Linked DNA regions of Homo sapiens: regions 1, 2 and 3 are each linked to region 4. Evidence: promoter capture Hi-C in 16 types of primary human blood cells and fetal thymus (Javierre and others, 2016). All regions are on one chromosome and are shown on one strand. The core of a region is centred on a gene start or on the middle of the fragment in contact, and the rest is flanking DNA. Distances in the headings are between cores, read along the strand shown. Region 1 overlaps SPNS3 (SPNS lysolipid transporter 3, sphingosine-1-phosphate (putative)). Region 2 overlaps LOC105371499 (a long non-coding RNA gene). Region 3 holds the start of LOC105371499 (a long non-coding RNA gene). Region 4 holds the start of GGT6 (gamma-glutamyltransferase 6).

Evidence for each region. Contacts are between HindIII fragments. The CHiCAGO score rates a contact against its expected background, and 5 or more counts as called.
Region 1: a fragment that was not itself captured here is called in contact with the fragment with the promoter of GGT6 in region 4 in 4 of 17 cell types (endothelial precursors, M1 macrophages, M2 macrophages and 1 more); the score reaches 7.4 in endothelial precursors.
Region 2: a fragment that was not itself captured here is called in contact with the fragment with the promoter of GGT6 in region 4 in 1 of 17 cell types (M1 macrophages); the score reaches 5.8 in M1 macrophages.
Region 3: a contact is called between a fragment that was not itself captured here and the fragment with the promoter of GGT6 in region 4, in 2 of 17 cell types (M1 macrophages and endothelial precursors). The highest score is 7.0, in M1 macrophages.

The regions. Positions count from the first base shown.
Region 1 is chr17:4,450,613-4,454,099 of GRCh38, reverse strand. It overlaps SPNS3 (SPNS lysolipid transporter 3, sphingosine-1-phosphate (putative)), which reads right to left. Exons shown (of 12, transcript NM_182538.5): 8 at 895-1,084. Among named protein-coding and RNA genes, the nearest start is that of SPNS3, 18 kb to the right of the region's middle. The HindIII fragment of the contact is 1,406 bases long and covers 739-2,144 here.
Region 2 is chr17:4,661,428-4,664,740 of GRCh38, reverse strand. All of the region lies in intron 2 of LOC105371499 (a long non-coding RNA gene), which reads right to left. Among named protein-coding and RNA genes, the nearest start is that of ALOX15, 21 kb to the right of the region's middle. RefSeq lists an enhancer at 388-557. The HindIII fragment of the contact is 7,116 bases long and covers 1-3,313 here.
Region 3 is chr17:4,644,245-4,647,964 of GRCh38, reverse strand. It overlaps LOC105371499 (a long non-coding RNA gene), which reads right to left and starts at 2,956. Exons shown (of 3, transcript XR_001752768.2): 1 at 1,966-2,956; 2 at 935-1,015. The HindIII fragment of the contact is 679 bases long and covers 1,031-1,709 here.
Region 4 is chr17:4,558,233-4,561,893 of GRCh38, reverse strand. It overlaps GGT6 (gamma-glutamyltransferase 6), which reads left to right and starts at 1,317. Exons shown (of 4, transcript NM_001288702.2): 1 at 1,317-1,512; 2 at 2,134-2,336; 3 at 2,438-2,551; 4 at 2,837-3,661. The coding sequence starts at 1,373. The HindIII fragment of the contact is 2,996 bases long and covers 1-1,430 here.

The DNA.
Region 1 (3,487 bases), core at 192-2,691, 110 kb after region 4:
AGGGGAAGGCTTTTGGAGGAAGCGGACTTTGAGTTGAGTCTTGCAGAAGGAGGATTTCAGGATGCACAAAAGAGGAACTGGTGTTCTTGGTGGAAGAAATGGACGCGTGCAAAGTCTGGGAAGTGTGTGTGCCCACACGGCTGGCACAGCCAGAGTGTGAGGCCCATGAAGGGGTGTGATGGGATGTGGATTTGGAACACTTGATATTACCATGATTATTGCCCTTAAAGCAGCGTCCACATTGGCCATAACCAATCTGGGCCTTGCTTCCCTCCTCTGTAACCTGGGGAGAATTGCTCTATTTCTTCTTGGGCCCACAATATGCCCTGGCAATAAATGAGTCCTATTTTCTCAAATTAACACATTAACCCAATGCTCAGAGGACACCTTTTACAGTCAGAAAAGCTCAGGCTCAAATCCCAGTTCTGCCCCTTCTTCACTGTGGAACTCCTGGTAAGCTTCTCTCTCTGTTTTTTTCCCCCAAGATGGAGTCTTGCTCCATTGCCCAGGCTGGAGTGCAGTGGCGCAATCTCAGCTCACTGCAACCTCCACCTCCCGCGTTCAAGCGATTCTCCTGCCTCAGCCTCCCAAGCAGCTGGGATTATAGGTGCCTGCCACCATGCCCAGCTAATTTTTTGTATTTTTAGTAGAGACAGGGTTTCACCATATTGGCCAGGCCGGCCTTGACCTCCCAAAGTGCTAGGATTACAGACATGAGCCACCGCGTCCAGCCAAGCTTCTCTTTACTGATCTGTAAAATGGGGATAACAAGCTCTACTCAGAAGGAGTGATCAACATAATTGTACATAAAGGCCGGGCGCAGCATGAGCCTGTGGAAACAGGAGTTCCTCGCCCCCCAACCCTGTCCCCACCTCCATAGAGGCTCTCACTTACATAGGAGGCCAGCAGGGTGGTCGGGGCCAGGACGAGAGCCAGGTAGAGGCAGGGGGCTGTGGCAAGCAGGCTGGAGGCGCAGATGAGGGGCTCAGCTCCTGGAATGACTTTCTTGTACCTCCTCGCAGCTTCTGCCCCCAAGATGACCCCAATGACGCCGGTCATGATGGTCAGTGCCCCAAAAATCAGGCTGATGGGGAAGAGCACAGAAGGGTTGGTCAGCTGGGTGAGCTTAGCATAGGGACTCTTATCCTGCTCCCAGCCCCAGGTCTAGCCCCTCGGCTCAAGTGCATGATCTGGTGTCTACAGGGAATATGGCTGTGGGCCCCTGACCTGACCCAGAACCTTACCCACCCTCCTCACTGATACTCCCAGGGACCAATGTCCCACTGCTCTCCCCTACCCCCTTTCCTGCCTCATCTCCTGTCTCATCCTGGGGATCCCACTGGCCATGTGGGTGATCACCCTGCACCCCAGGTCCCAGCCTGCCTCATCTCCATTGACCCTTACCCTTTCACCCCCCAAAACTGCCCCACTCAAAATCTGAATTCCAGGGTCCCACCCTGGCCCCAACCTTCTCTCTTTCCAGCTCCCAGTACTAAGAGGAATGGAGGGAAGCAAACATGTATTTACTGAGCCCCTGTGATACACCTGGCCCTTGTCTGGGCTCTCTACACGCCCTCCCTCCTTGAATCCCATCCTTCCACTCCCCGTCTTTGAACCCCTCTCAGGCAGCCCCTACCTGACTTCCGTCCCTTTCCCACCCACTTTTAGAGCCACTTCTACTCTGCTTGGCTTCCCCTTGTACATCCTTCCTGTGGAGACCTGTCCCTCCAAAATAACCTCCACAAAGGCTCCCCAGGAGTGCATTTTGTGGCAGGAGATCTGTGGTGGGAGGAGTTCCAGATCAGAAAGATTTTGTCTCTACAAAAAATTTTTAAATCATCCAGCCTTGGTGGCGTGCACCTGTAGTCCCAGCTACTCAGGAGGCTGAGGCGGGAGGATCGCTTGAGCTCAGAAGTTCGAGGCCACAGTGAGCTATGATCATACCACTGCACTCCAGCTTGGGCAACAATTCCCAGATGGATAGGTGAGCAAGGTGAGGCTGAGAAAAGTCAAGGCCAAGATTACCCAGCTGGTAAATTACAGACCAGGATTTGAATATACTTCTTCACCCTCCTGGTCCATTGTGCAACCTCCAGCCCCCTTTTAAAGGAGCTCAAAGGGGACCAGGCAAGGTGGCTTAAGCTTGTAATCCCAGCACTTTGGGAGGCCGAGGTGGGTGGATCACTTGAGGTCAGGAATTCAAGACCAGCCTGGCCGATACAGCAAAACCCCGTCTCTACTAAAAAAAAAAAAAAATACAAAAATTAGCTGGGAACAGTGGTGGGCACCTGTAATCCCAGCCCACTCAGGAGGTTGAGGCAGGAGAATCACTTGAATCCGGGAGGTGGAGGTTGCAGTGAGCTGAGATCACACCACTGCACTCCAGCCTGGGCAAGAGAGCAAGACTCCGTCTCAAAAACAAAACAAAACAAAACAAATAAAGGAGCTCAAAGGGAACGCTGAGACTGTGCCCACTGTGAACTCTTGAAAACACCAGTCCAACCAGGATCTTTCCAACCTCTCAATAGCTCCCTGTCGTCCTCTGAGCAAGCTCCTGACCAGCACTGATGACTCTGCGGGACTGGTCCACGCTGACCGATGTAGCTTGCCCTCTCTTCTCCCACCCTCACTTTGCACAAATGACTGAGAATTCTCTAAATTCTCTACCAAAAGTACAAAAATTAGCTGGGCGTGGTGGTGTGCGCCTGTAGTCCCAGCTACTTGGGAGGCTGAGGCAGGAGAATCGCTTGAACCCGGGAGGCCGAGGTTGCAGTGAGCCGAGATCGTGCTACTGCACTCCAGCCTAGCAACACAGCAAGACTCTGTCTCAAATGGAAAAAAAAAAAAAACAAAGAAGAAGAAGAAGAAGTGCTTTCTAAACCTTCCCAGGCTTCCAAGCTGTGCGAGGTCTGGCTCAGCCCAGTCAAATGACCCAAATCCCGGATGTATGCTAGCTGCCTCTGAGTCCTGGTCTGGGCTGACCTTGGCAGGTTCTCGAGATATTCATGAGACTTAGGATTGATTATTTAGACAGGCTGCCTGAAAATGCACCCCCGCCAGCCCCTAAGCAGGAGGGGCAGCCAGAGGACATGCCCCAGCTACCAAGCCCTTCATGTTCCCTCCATCCACACAGGGCCCTCCCAGCATCACAGACTCTTACAGCCAAGAGAGCCCTTAAGGATCTGTAAGTTCGGCCGGGCACGGTGGCTCACGCCTGTAATTCCAGCACTTCGGGAGGCTGAGGCGGGCCAGTCATTCGAGGTCAGGAGTCCGAGACCAGCCTGCCCAACATGGTGAAACCCCATCTCTACTAAAAATACAAAAAAAAAAAAAAAAATAGCTGGGCATGGTAGCACATGCCTGTAATCTTAGCTACTCGGGAGGCTGAGGTAGGAGAATCACTTGAACCTGGGAGGTGGAAACTGCAGTCAGCCAAGATTGTGCCACTGCACTCCAGCCTGGGCAACGAGAGTGAAACTCTGTCTCA
Region 2 (3,313 bases), core at 592-3,091, 100 kb before region 4:
GGACAGGGTTCAGGGCTGGAGAAGATTTGGGAGGGGGCAGGTCACCCAGGGAGGATGACTGGAGTGGAAAGAGACGTGGGCTTAAGTGGAACCACATCACACCACATTTTAGGGGCAAGAGGAGCCCCTTTAAGGAGCGTGAAGAGGACTTGGAGAAGGCCATGTCCCAGAAAAGAACTTCAAACAGGAGGCAGAAAACATAGAAAACATCGTGCTGTTGAGAAATGTCCATTGGATCTGGGGAAGAGTAAGACCTCGTGAAGGAAGGAGAGAAGATGGTGCGGTGAGGTGCCGGCCCTGCTCCGCCGCCACTCACACCTCAGCACAGGGACTGTGGCAACCCAGGCGCCTGCCCTACTTGGTTCCTGAATGGTATGTTCTTTGAATGGTTTCTGTCGGCCAGGGAGCAGCTGCTCCTCAGCCTCTCTATGGTTCCTTCTCAGTCTGCAGGGACAGAGAGGCAGAGCTCCAAGATCTCAGGCTTCTGGGCCCTGGCCACCCCAACAGAGGCAGAGGTTTGATGCTTTCTCTTCAGAAGCCTTAACTGGCCATCCTGTCTAAAACTCCCCTCTTGCCTCCATCTCCCCTCATTAGCTCCTGCTTCCCCCACCCCCCACCTGATATATATGATATATATTTTTGAATATTTAGTTGGTCTCCTCGCAATAGAATGTAAACACCATTAGAGCAGAGACATTGTTGGTTTGTCTGTTGCTGCATCCCCAGTTCCAAATTCCTGTTATGTAGAAGGGGCTCAGTAACGAATGAATGAATGAACCAATGAACAAACGAATGTCTAATTGTGGTTCCTCCTCAGTTCTTTGAGCTGAACGTGGGAGATAAGCAAACCATCACCTGCAGTAGGATAAGCTCTGCAAGAACCCGGGGAGGCTCCCTCTCCAGCGGGGTGGATGTGCATTGCTGGAGCAGATTGAGAAACTGAGTTCTGATGGGAGCTTAGCTGCTCGGGTTCCTCTCACACCGTCTGTTGCAGCCTGCTCCCTTTTGACTGAATGCAACAAAAAAGAATGGGCTGGGGTGGTAGGGCACCCCTAGCATGGCACACCCTCCCCCCACTTCACCCCTTGCAAGCCAAGGAGACTTTGAGGGGCAGTTCTCAGGGCACAGATCCTAGGGAGCCCACAGGGTGCCATTCTTAGGACTTTGTCACTGTGGGGTCTCATGGATCCTCAGTCCCGGGGCCTGGGTCACTTCCACTTCTAGTCTTTGACCTGTCTGGGTCCAGTGCAAATCTGTTTTCAAATACTGGATGAGTGACCTCCCTACAAACTGCCCAGTGGATTTCCCTAAATAGCAACTTATCTGTAGACCCCCTGGACAAGGGTTGTGTGTTAGGCCTTCTTTTCTCCATGTGGTTCCTGGCAAAAGACTCGGCATAAAGAGATATTTGTGCACACGAAGTCAAGGAAATGCTCCCGCATGGGATCCAGAGCTCAAGAGGTTTCTTCTCGTTTTCAGTCCTTTGCAAAGACCCTTGGTCTGCCTTATCTCATGCTGTTCTAATGTTTCCCAACACTTGAACTAAGTGTTGCCCCAGATTTCTTCACCTTTCGGACATCTAACTCCCTGAAGTCTCCCATGTCTTTGGTTTCTCAGCCTCTCCTGTGAAACATGGTGCTGAAGCCACACTTTTGGGTCTTGAACACTAAGAACCTGCACTCATTTACACTCTGACCAGTTCAGTTCCTGCCAACCAGCCCTGCTTTCATTTGTCTTTTTTTTTTTTTAGACAGAGTTTCGCTCTTGTTGCCTAGGGTACAGTACGGTGGCGCGCGATCTCAGCTCACCGCAACCTCCGCCTCCCGGGTTCAAGCGATTCTCCTGCCTCAGCCTCCCGAGTTGCTGGGATTACAGGCATGTGCTACCATGCCCAGCTAATTTTGTATTTTTAGTAGAGATGGGGTTTCTCCACGTTGGTCAGGCTGGTCTCGAACTCCCGACCTCAGTCGATCCACCCTCCTTGGCCTCCCAAAGTGTTGGGATTACAGGCGTGAGCCACCGCACCCGGCCTCATTTGTCGTACTGCAACTACACTGTCTGCTTTTCCACCCAGCAAGCCTTTCATTCACTTGTTCCTTCCGCAACATGCATATAGTACTTCCTGTAGGCCACATGTTGTGCTAGATGTTGGAGATAAAAATGAAAACTACACAGTCACTGTCTCCAGGGGTCTCTCAGTCTCCCGAGAAAGAGAAAGGTAAATGGATAAATACAATGAAGGGAAATTGTTAGGTAATAGAGTACAAATGGGTGCCCCAAGAGAGAGCTGCCAGGTCCATAAAGGGGTTGAGTGTGGTGGGAAGATATAAAGGTATCAGAAGGGTTTGGAGAGTAGTGCCTGTGTTTTGGACAGTCTGAGGGGCAGGTATTCTGGCTAGAAGAAGGTTGGGGAGCTCTACCAATCCTACGTGGCTGGAGACAAAAAGCGGGACATTTTGACCTTTATACTATAGCAAACTAGTATTTCAGCTGACAAACATCTAGAACTTCATTTATTCCCCAAACATTTTCAGATCTGTAGAAAAGATAACAATAGCAGTTCAACAGCTACCCTGAACTTAGACTAACCAAATATTAAAGTTTGCCACATTCACTTTCTTGATATCTGAGTTTTCTTTTTCTTTCTTTCTTTTTTTTAATTTTTATTTATTTATTTTTTTGAGACGGAGTCTCACTCTGTCGCCCAGGCTGGAGTGCAGTGGCGCGATCTCGGCTCATGGCAAGCTCCGCCTCCCAGGTTCACACCATTCTCCTGCCTCAGCCTCCCGAGTAGCTGGGACTACAGGCACCCGCCACCGCACCCAGCTAATTTTTTGTATTTTTAGTAGAGACGGGGTTTCACCATGTTAGCCAGGATGGTCTCGATCTCCTGACCTCGTGATCTGCCTGCCTCGGCCTCCCAAAGTGCTGGGATTACAGGCGTGAGCCACCACGCCTGGCGATATCTGAATTTTCTTTCTTGAACCATTTGAGAGTAAGTTGCACCATCATACCTTATTCTTAAACACTAATATACTCCTGAATATTTATATAGTATTTCCCAAGATTGAGGACATTCTCTTACACAATCACGATACAATTATCAGTCAAGAATTTTAACAAATGAGAGAATACTGTTATCTAATATGTTGTCCATATGTGAATTTTCCCATTAATGTCTTTTATAGCTGTTTGTGAATTTCAGCTTCCTATGTCACCAATTCACAGGTCCCATCCCTGACACGAACTCTGTCCCTTATCCCATCCCTAAGCTCATTCCTTCCCTGATCCCTACATGTATCTATTCATGGCC
Region 3 (3,720 bases), core at 121-2,620, 86 kb before region 4:
CACCATGTTGGCCAGGCTGGTCTCGAACTCCTGACCTGATCAGGTGATCCGCCTCAGCCTCCCAAAGCATTGGGATTCCAGGCGTGAGCCACCGCGCCCAGCTGAGAAGCAATATTTGACATTCTCGACACCACTTTGACAAAATAATACTTGTAAAGTACGATATTAACATATTTTTTTGATTTTGTTTTTTCAGAGACAGGGTCTCCCTCTGTTGTCCAGGCTGGAGTTCACAGGCACAATCATAGCTCACTGCAGCCTCGAACTCCTGGGCTGAAGTGATCCTTGCATCTCAGCTTCCCACACAGCTGGGATTACAGGCAAACACCATCATGCCCAGCTAATATTTTTTATTTTTGTTTTTATTTTTTGAGATGGAGTCTCGCTCTGTCACCTAGGCTGCAGTGCAGTGGCCACGATCTCGGATCATTGCAACCTCTGCCTCCTGGGTTCAAGTGATTCTCATGCCTCAGCCTCCCAAGTAGCTAGGACTATAGTTGCCCACCACCATGCTCGGCTAATTTTTGTATTTTTATTAGAGACAGGGTTTCATTATGTTGGCCAGGCTGGTCTCGAACTCCCAACCTCAGGTGATCCACCCGCCTTGGCCTCCCAAAGTGCTGGGATTACAGGCGTGAGCCACCGCACCCGGCCAATTTTTATTTTTGTAGAGACAGAATCTCACGATGTTGCCCAGGCTGGTCTCCTGAGCTCAAGTGATCCTCTCGCCTCAGACTCCAAAAGTGCTGGGATTCCAGGTAGGAGCCACTGCACCCAGTGGACACATGTATCTTTATGATCCTGGTACTTTCATAATCTCAGCTGGGGCTTACTGCACTTGAGCTCAGTTTTGGATTTTTGAGTTTCAAAAACCCAGGCATTAGGAGGCCCATGGAGAAGCAAAGTCCACATCCAGGGTCTTCTCTGCACTTACCTTGGAAATATCATCTGATGTCAGTGTCCTGGAGCCATATCGGGACAGAGAGGGTACACATAAGTGACCAGTGGACATCACCTGCATAGAAAAGCTTTGTTCGTTGTCCAAGCCTGTCGCTTTGACTGCAGCCAATGTGTCACTTATTGACTGGCCCTCTCCTGTCCCTGCTCAGCTCATCTGAACCACTTCAGGTGGATGCCTCTTCTTTCAACATCAACATTATTTGTCAGTTGCTTTGCTGACTGATCCGTTTTCTAACAGTACTTCTATGGACTTTACAAAGTCTTCTAATGTTTCAAGACTTGAAATTTCACTCTGTAGCCAGTTAGATGGACAAAGGTAGCTGGCATTAATAAAGCAGGAAGAACCGGGTGCAGTGGCTCACGCCTGTAATCCCAGCACTTTGGGAGGCCGAGGCGGGCCGATCACCTGAGCTCAGGAGTTTGACACCAGCCTGGGCAACACAGTGAAACCCTGTCTCTATCAAAAATACAAAAAATCATCCAGGCATAGCGGCAAGCGCCTGTTTTCCCAGCTACTCGGGAGACTGAGGCAGGAGAATTGCTTGAACCTGGGAGGTGGAGGTTGCAGTGAGCCGAAATCGCACCATTGCACTCCAGCCTGGGTGACAGAGCGAGACTCTGGGTCAAAAACAAACAAACAAACAAACACAAAAAAACAAAAGCCACAAAAAAAAAAAAGGAGGAAGAGGTGAGTGAACTAATTTTGAAAGTGGTCAGTTCATTGAATATTTTTTGGCTTTACATAAGCTTGGGAGTTTGAGGATTCAGAAAATAAGCATGCAGACCGTATTAGTTATCTATTTCTGCTTTACAACGACCTCAAAACTCAGTGGTGTGATGGCACATGCCTGTGGTCCCAGCTACTTGGGAAGCTGAGGTGGGAAGATCACTTGAGCCTGGGAGGTGGAGGCTACAGTCAGCTGTGACCATGCCACTGCACTCCAGCTTGAGTGACAGAGCAAGACCCTGTCTCAAAAACAAAACAAAACAAAAAACACCCATTACCTTACACAGTTTTGGGAGTCAGTTGGTTCTAGTTCAAGAGTCTTATGAGGTTTCAGTCAAGAGATTGGCTGTAGTCATCTGAAGTCTTAACCGGGGCAGGAGGATCTGTTTCCAAGATGGCTGCCCCACGTGGTTGGTAGTTGGAGGGTTCAGTTCCTCACTGGCTCGTAGCAGGAGGGCTCAGTTCCTTGCCACGTGGACCTCTCCATAGAGTTTCTTGAGTGACCTCATGACATAGTAGTTAATTTCTCTCAGAGAAAGCAGAACAAGAAAGAGGGAGAGTGGGGAGGGAGGAGACGGAAAGCCCTAATGTCTTTTAGGACCTAGCTTTGGAAGTCACACACATCATTTCATACTGCATTGGCTTTGCAGACCAACCCAGACACAATGTAGGAGACTATGGAAAGGCATGCATATCAGGAGGTCGGAATCACTGGGGGATGTTTTAAAGAATGGCCACCACGAGCATGCCCTCTGAATTCTGGTGATTTACATTCCTTCCACATGCAAAATACACTCGCTCCCTCTCAAGCTACCCCAAAGTCGAATCCCATTATAGCATCAGCTCAAAGTCTAGAATTTCATCATCTAAATCAGGTCCATGTATAGATGAGATTTCTCAACTGTATTACCTTAAGTATACTTCCAGAATACAATTCCTCCTCTTCTTTTTTTTTTTCTTTTTTAAAGAAGTTTCACTCTGTTGCCCAGGCTGGAGTGCAGTGGCACGATCTCAGGTCACTGCAATCTCTGCCTCTGGGGTTCAAGCGATTCTCCTGCCTCAGCCTCCTGAGTAGCTGGGATTACAGGTGTCCACCACCATGCCTGGCTACTTTTTGTATTTTTAGTAGAGATGAGGTTTCACCATGTTGGTCAGGCTGGTCTTGAACTCCTGAACTCAGCTGATTCTCCCACCTCGACCTCCCAAAGTGCTGGGATTACAGGCATGAGCCACCGTGCCTGGGCTCCTCTTCTTCTGAAGACCTGTAAACTAAAGAGAAAGTCATCTGACCCCACCCCCAACATACAATGTTGGAACAGGCATAGGCTAACCACCATAGATATCCCTATCCAAGACGGGAAGAAATGGCCTGGGTCTTTCCTCTCCCATCACAACTGCATCATAATCTAACCTCACTCAGTCTACCCACAAGTTACTGTGAATTACTTTTGGAAGCCTTCCCAACTCTTCAATCACACTTTTAATCTGCAAGAAAATTACTGGGTTTGTGCCATTTCTATGGAAGATGAATTTTACCCACCACATTTTGATTTTTCTGAATTTCACTTATAAAAAAAACCTTTTGGTTGGGCACGGTGGCTCACACCTGTAATCCCAGCACTTTGGGAGGCTGAGGCAGGCTGATCACATGAGGCCAGGAGTTCGAGACTAGCCTGGCCAACATAGCGAAAACCCATCTCTACTAAAAATACAAAAAATTAGCCGGGCATGGTGGCAGGCGACTGTAATTCCAGCTACTCGAGAGACTAAGGCAGGAGAATTGCTTGAGCCCGGGAGGCAGAGGTTTTAGTGAGCCAAGATCGCGCCACTGCACTCCAGCCTGGGCGACAAGAGCAAAACTCCTTCTCAAAAAAAGAAAAAAAAAAAAAGCTCAACTTTACTCATAATAAGGGTAATGCAAATTAAAATTAAAACTAGGGTACCATTTTTCACCTATCCGATTGGCTAAGGTAAGGTTATGAACACACCATTGGCAAGAGTGAGGAAGAATGGGCATTCTCATACACAGTCCA
Region 4 (3,661 bases), core at 68-2,567:
TTCACACCCAGGGCACTCGTGTCACCAACACTCAGATTAAGAAACAACATCTCGGCCGGGCGCGGTGGCTCACACCCGTAATCCTAGTACTTTTGGGAGGCTGAGGCGGGCGGATCACCTGAGGTCAAGAGTTCAAGACCAGGCTGGCCAACATGGTGAAACCCTGTCTCTACTAAAAATACAAAAAATTAGCCAGGCGTGGTGGCATGTGCCTGTAATCCCAGCTACTCGGGAGGCTGAGGCAGAAGAATTGCTTGAACCCAGGAGGTGGAAGTTGCAGTGAGCTGAGATTGCACCATTGCACTCCAGCCTGGGCAACAAGAATGAAAACTCTGTCAAGAAAGAAAGAAGAGAAAGAAAAGAAAGGTAAAGGAAAAAGGAAAGGAAAGAAAGGAAGGAAAGAAAGGACATCTCCAGCATTCCAGAAACCCCCTGGTACCTCCTCCAGTCACTATCTGACTTCTAAGGGCAGACTGTTGTTGCTCTTTTGTTGTTGCCTGTTTGTGTACTTTGTGTAAATGAAAGCATATAGCGTGCGCTGTCTCCTGCCTGGCTGCTTTCCCTCGTCCTTATGCTTGTCAGACCTGTGTATATTATTGCATATAATTGTAGATCACTCACTCTCTTTGCTGCAGAGTGGTCCATTGTGACTTACATCATTCATTCTAACGATAATGGATGTTTGGGCACTTTCCAATTTGGGACTGTTACAAACAGCACTGTTTTGCAACAAGTCCTTGATGGGAATCCCAGAATGAATTTAGAAATGTTGGTTTCCAGGCTGTGGCGCTACCTTCTGGACAAGAGTCGCAAAACACGCACAGGGAGTTACGAACCAAGTTGCTCCTCAAAGAAACCCAGACCCAGAGTAGCCACAGGCTGAGCCTTGACCCCGGCCAGAGACCAGACACCCCTACGCCAGAACCTAGTCACGTGCAGACTCAAGCACGTGGGAGCTCTGACCCAAGCCACCGTGAAACCGTAGCTCTAATTCAAGTCCACAGTCCCTAGAGTCCCAGGTGGGTGGGATCCATGGGCTACATCCCCCAAGGGGAGGAGCCCAGCAGGTGCCCTGAGTATCAAGGTTGTGGCATTAAGGCTGAACTCCTTCTCGACCTCACTGAGCTGTGGCCCCTTACAGGCAGTCACCCCGGGAACCCTGTCGCGAGAGCTCCTCGGGCCTTGTGTCCTAATGGGGCAGGCTCACATGCAGCCTCCTTGGCCCCGTGCCCTGCCCAGACCTGTTCTGGATTCCACCCCCACCCTTCCCCAAGGTCGCTGCCACCTCCCACCTGCCAGGCTTGGGCAGGGCCTCTGAGACACAGCCGGAAAGGCTGGCAGGCAGGAGGGCTGGGGCGAGCACTGGGGGGCCATGGAGCGGGCAGAAGAGCCCGTGGTCTATCAGAAGCTGCTGCCCTGGGAGCCAAGCTTGGAGTCGGAGGAGGAAGTGGAGGAGGAGGAGACATCAGAGGCGCTGGTTCTAAACCCCCGGAGGCACCAGGACTCTTCCAGGTAAGTAAGGGAGGGGTCTGGGCACCAGGCTCCCCAGGCTTGAGGTTGGCAAGTCCCTCTCTCTGGAGCCCCTCAGGGGGACCAGGCGACTCCCCGCTGGGTTTAGCTCCAGGCACTGTACGGTCAATTTGGGGGAAAACCCAGGCTGTAGCCCGAGACTTGGCCTGACCCAATCAAAAGTCTGTGCATCTGGAGGGACATTTGTACCAAGCCAGCCTCTGTCCCATCTGCTGCTTTGTCAAAGGTCCCCAGCCCCCAAGTCCTGGTGCAGGAGGCACCTGCTGGGCAGGTTGGGGCCTGACTACGCCTGGCTGGGCCTGCTCCCCAGCCCCTTCTCTCCTGCCTGCCACACCCCACTGGGCCTCCCTCCCACCTGAGTGGACTCTGCCCCACCAATCTCCCCTCCAGAGGCTCCCTCCCTAGCTAGGCTCAGTTTCCCCAGATGCTTTCCCATCCCCATGTCTGCCCAAGATGCACCCGCTGCCAAGAAGCCCTTTCTCCTTGGCTGACTTGTGCTCCTCTTGCTAAATCAAACCTTTTGGGAAATATTCCCTGGGGTCTCTTGGGGTCCTTGGGCATCCCTCTGTCCCAGCCGTGGCTCAGGACACCCCCCCTCTGCAGGAACAAGGCTGGCGGGCTGCCCGGAACCTGGGCCCGTGTAGTGGCAGCCCTGCTGCTGCTGGCTGTTGGCTGCTCCCTGGCTGTGAGGCAGCTCCAGAATCAGGGCAGGTCGACAGGAAGCTTGGGCTCTGTGGCCCCTCCACCCGGCGGACACTCCCACGGCCCTGGCGTATACCACCACGGTGCCATCATCAGCCCTGCAGGTCAGTCAGTGCTGGGGGCGGCTTGGGGAGGGGAGGGTCAGGGGTCACCAGCCCAGCCTAGCCCCCCTCCTTGCTGCATGACAGTGCCTTCCTTGCTGCAGCCACATGCTCCCACCTAGGCCGAGAGCTGCTTGTTGCCGGGGGCAACGTCGTGGATGCTGGAGTTGGAGCTGCATTGTGCCTGGCAGTGGTGCATCCTCATGCCACGGGGCTAGGTCAGTGACCCCTGACCCCAGACTGCAACCCCAACCCACAGCCTGATCAGTGACCTGGAACTTAGGGAGTCAGTAGCACTGACCTCAAGACTGCTAAGTGAGCAGGACTTAGGGTTTGGGCAGCAGTCCAACCCCAGGCTATGACCCTTGAGCCCGGGTCTGTGGAACTTTGACCTCAGGCCTGGTCAGTAACTCCTGATCCCAGGCTCAGTCAAGGGATCTTGACTGAAACAAGTCAGTGACCCTTGACCTGCGGCTGCTGAGGGACCCCTCTGTCTCCTGCAGGTGCCATGTTTTGGGGCCTCTTCCACGATAGCTCCTCAGGCAATTCCACGGCCCTGACATCAGGCCCAGCACAGACCCTGGCCCCCGGCCTGGGGCTGCCCGCGGCTCTGCCCACCCTGCACCTGCTGCATGCACGCTTCGGCCGCCTGCCCTGGCCACGCCTGCTAGTGGGCCCCACCACGCTGGCTCAGGAGGGCTTCCTGGTGGACACACCCCTGGCAAGGGCTCTGGTGGCTCGGGGCACAGAAGGCCTCTGTCCACTACTTTGCCATGCTGATGGGACACCCCTGGGCGCTGGGGCCCGAGCCACCAACCCACAACTGGCAGCTGTGCTTCGCAGCGCAGCCCTCGCTCCCACCTCAGACCTTGCTGGGGATGCTCTACTGAGTCTACTGGCGGGAGACCTGGGGGTGGAGGTGCCCTCGGCTGTGCCCAGGCCCACTTTGGAACCAGCAGAGCAGCTACCTGTGCCCCAGGGCATCCTGTTCACCACCCCCAGTCCCTCAGCTGGCCCAGAACTGCTGGCACTGTTGGAGGCAGCCCTGCGCTCCGGGGCGCCCATCCCTGACCCCTGCCCACCGTTCCTGCAGACTGCTGTGAGCCCCGAGAGCAGTGCCCTGGCCGCCGTGGACAGCAGCGGCTCTGTGCTCCTTCTCACCTCCTCGCTCAACTGCTCCTTTGGCTCTGCACACCTGTCCCCAAGCACTGGGGTTCTGCTCAGCAACCTGGTGGCCAAGTCTACCACTAGTGCCTGGGCCTGCCCCCTCATCCTCCGTGGCAGCCTGGATGACACAGAGGCTGATGTGTTGGGGCTTGTGGCTTCAG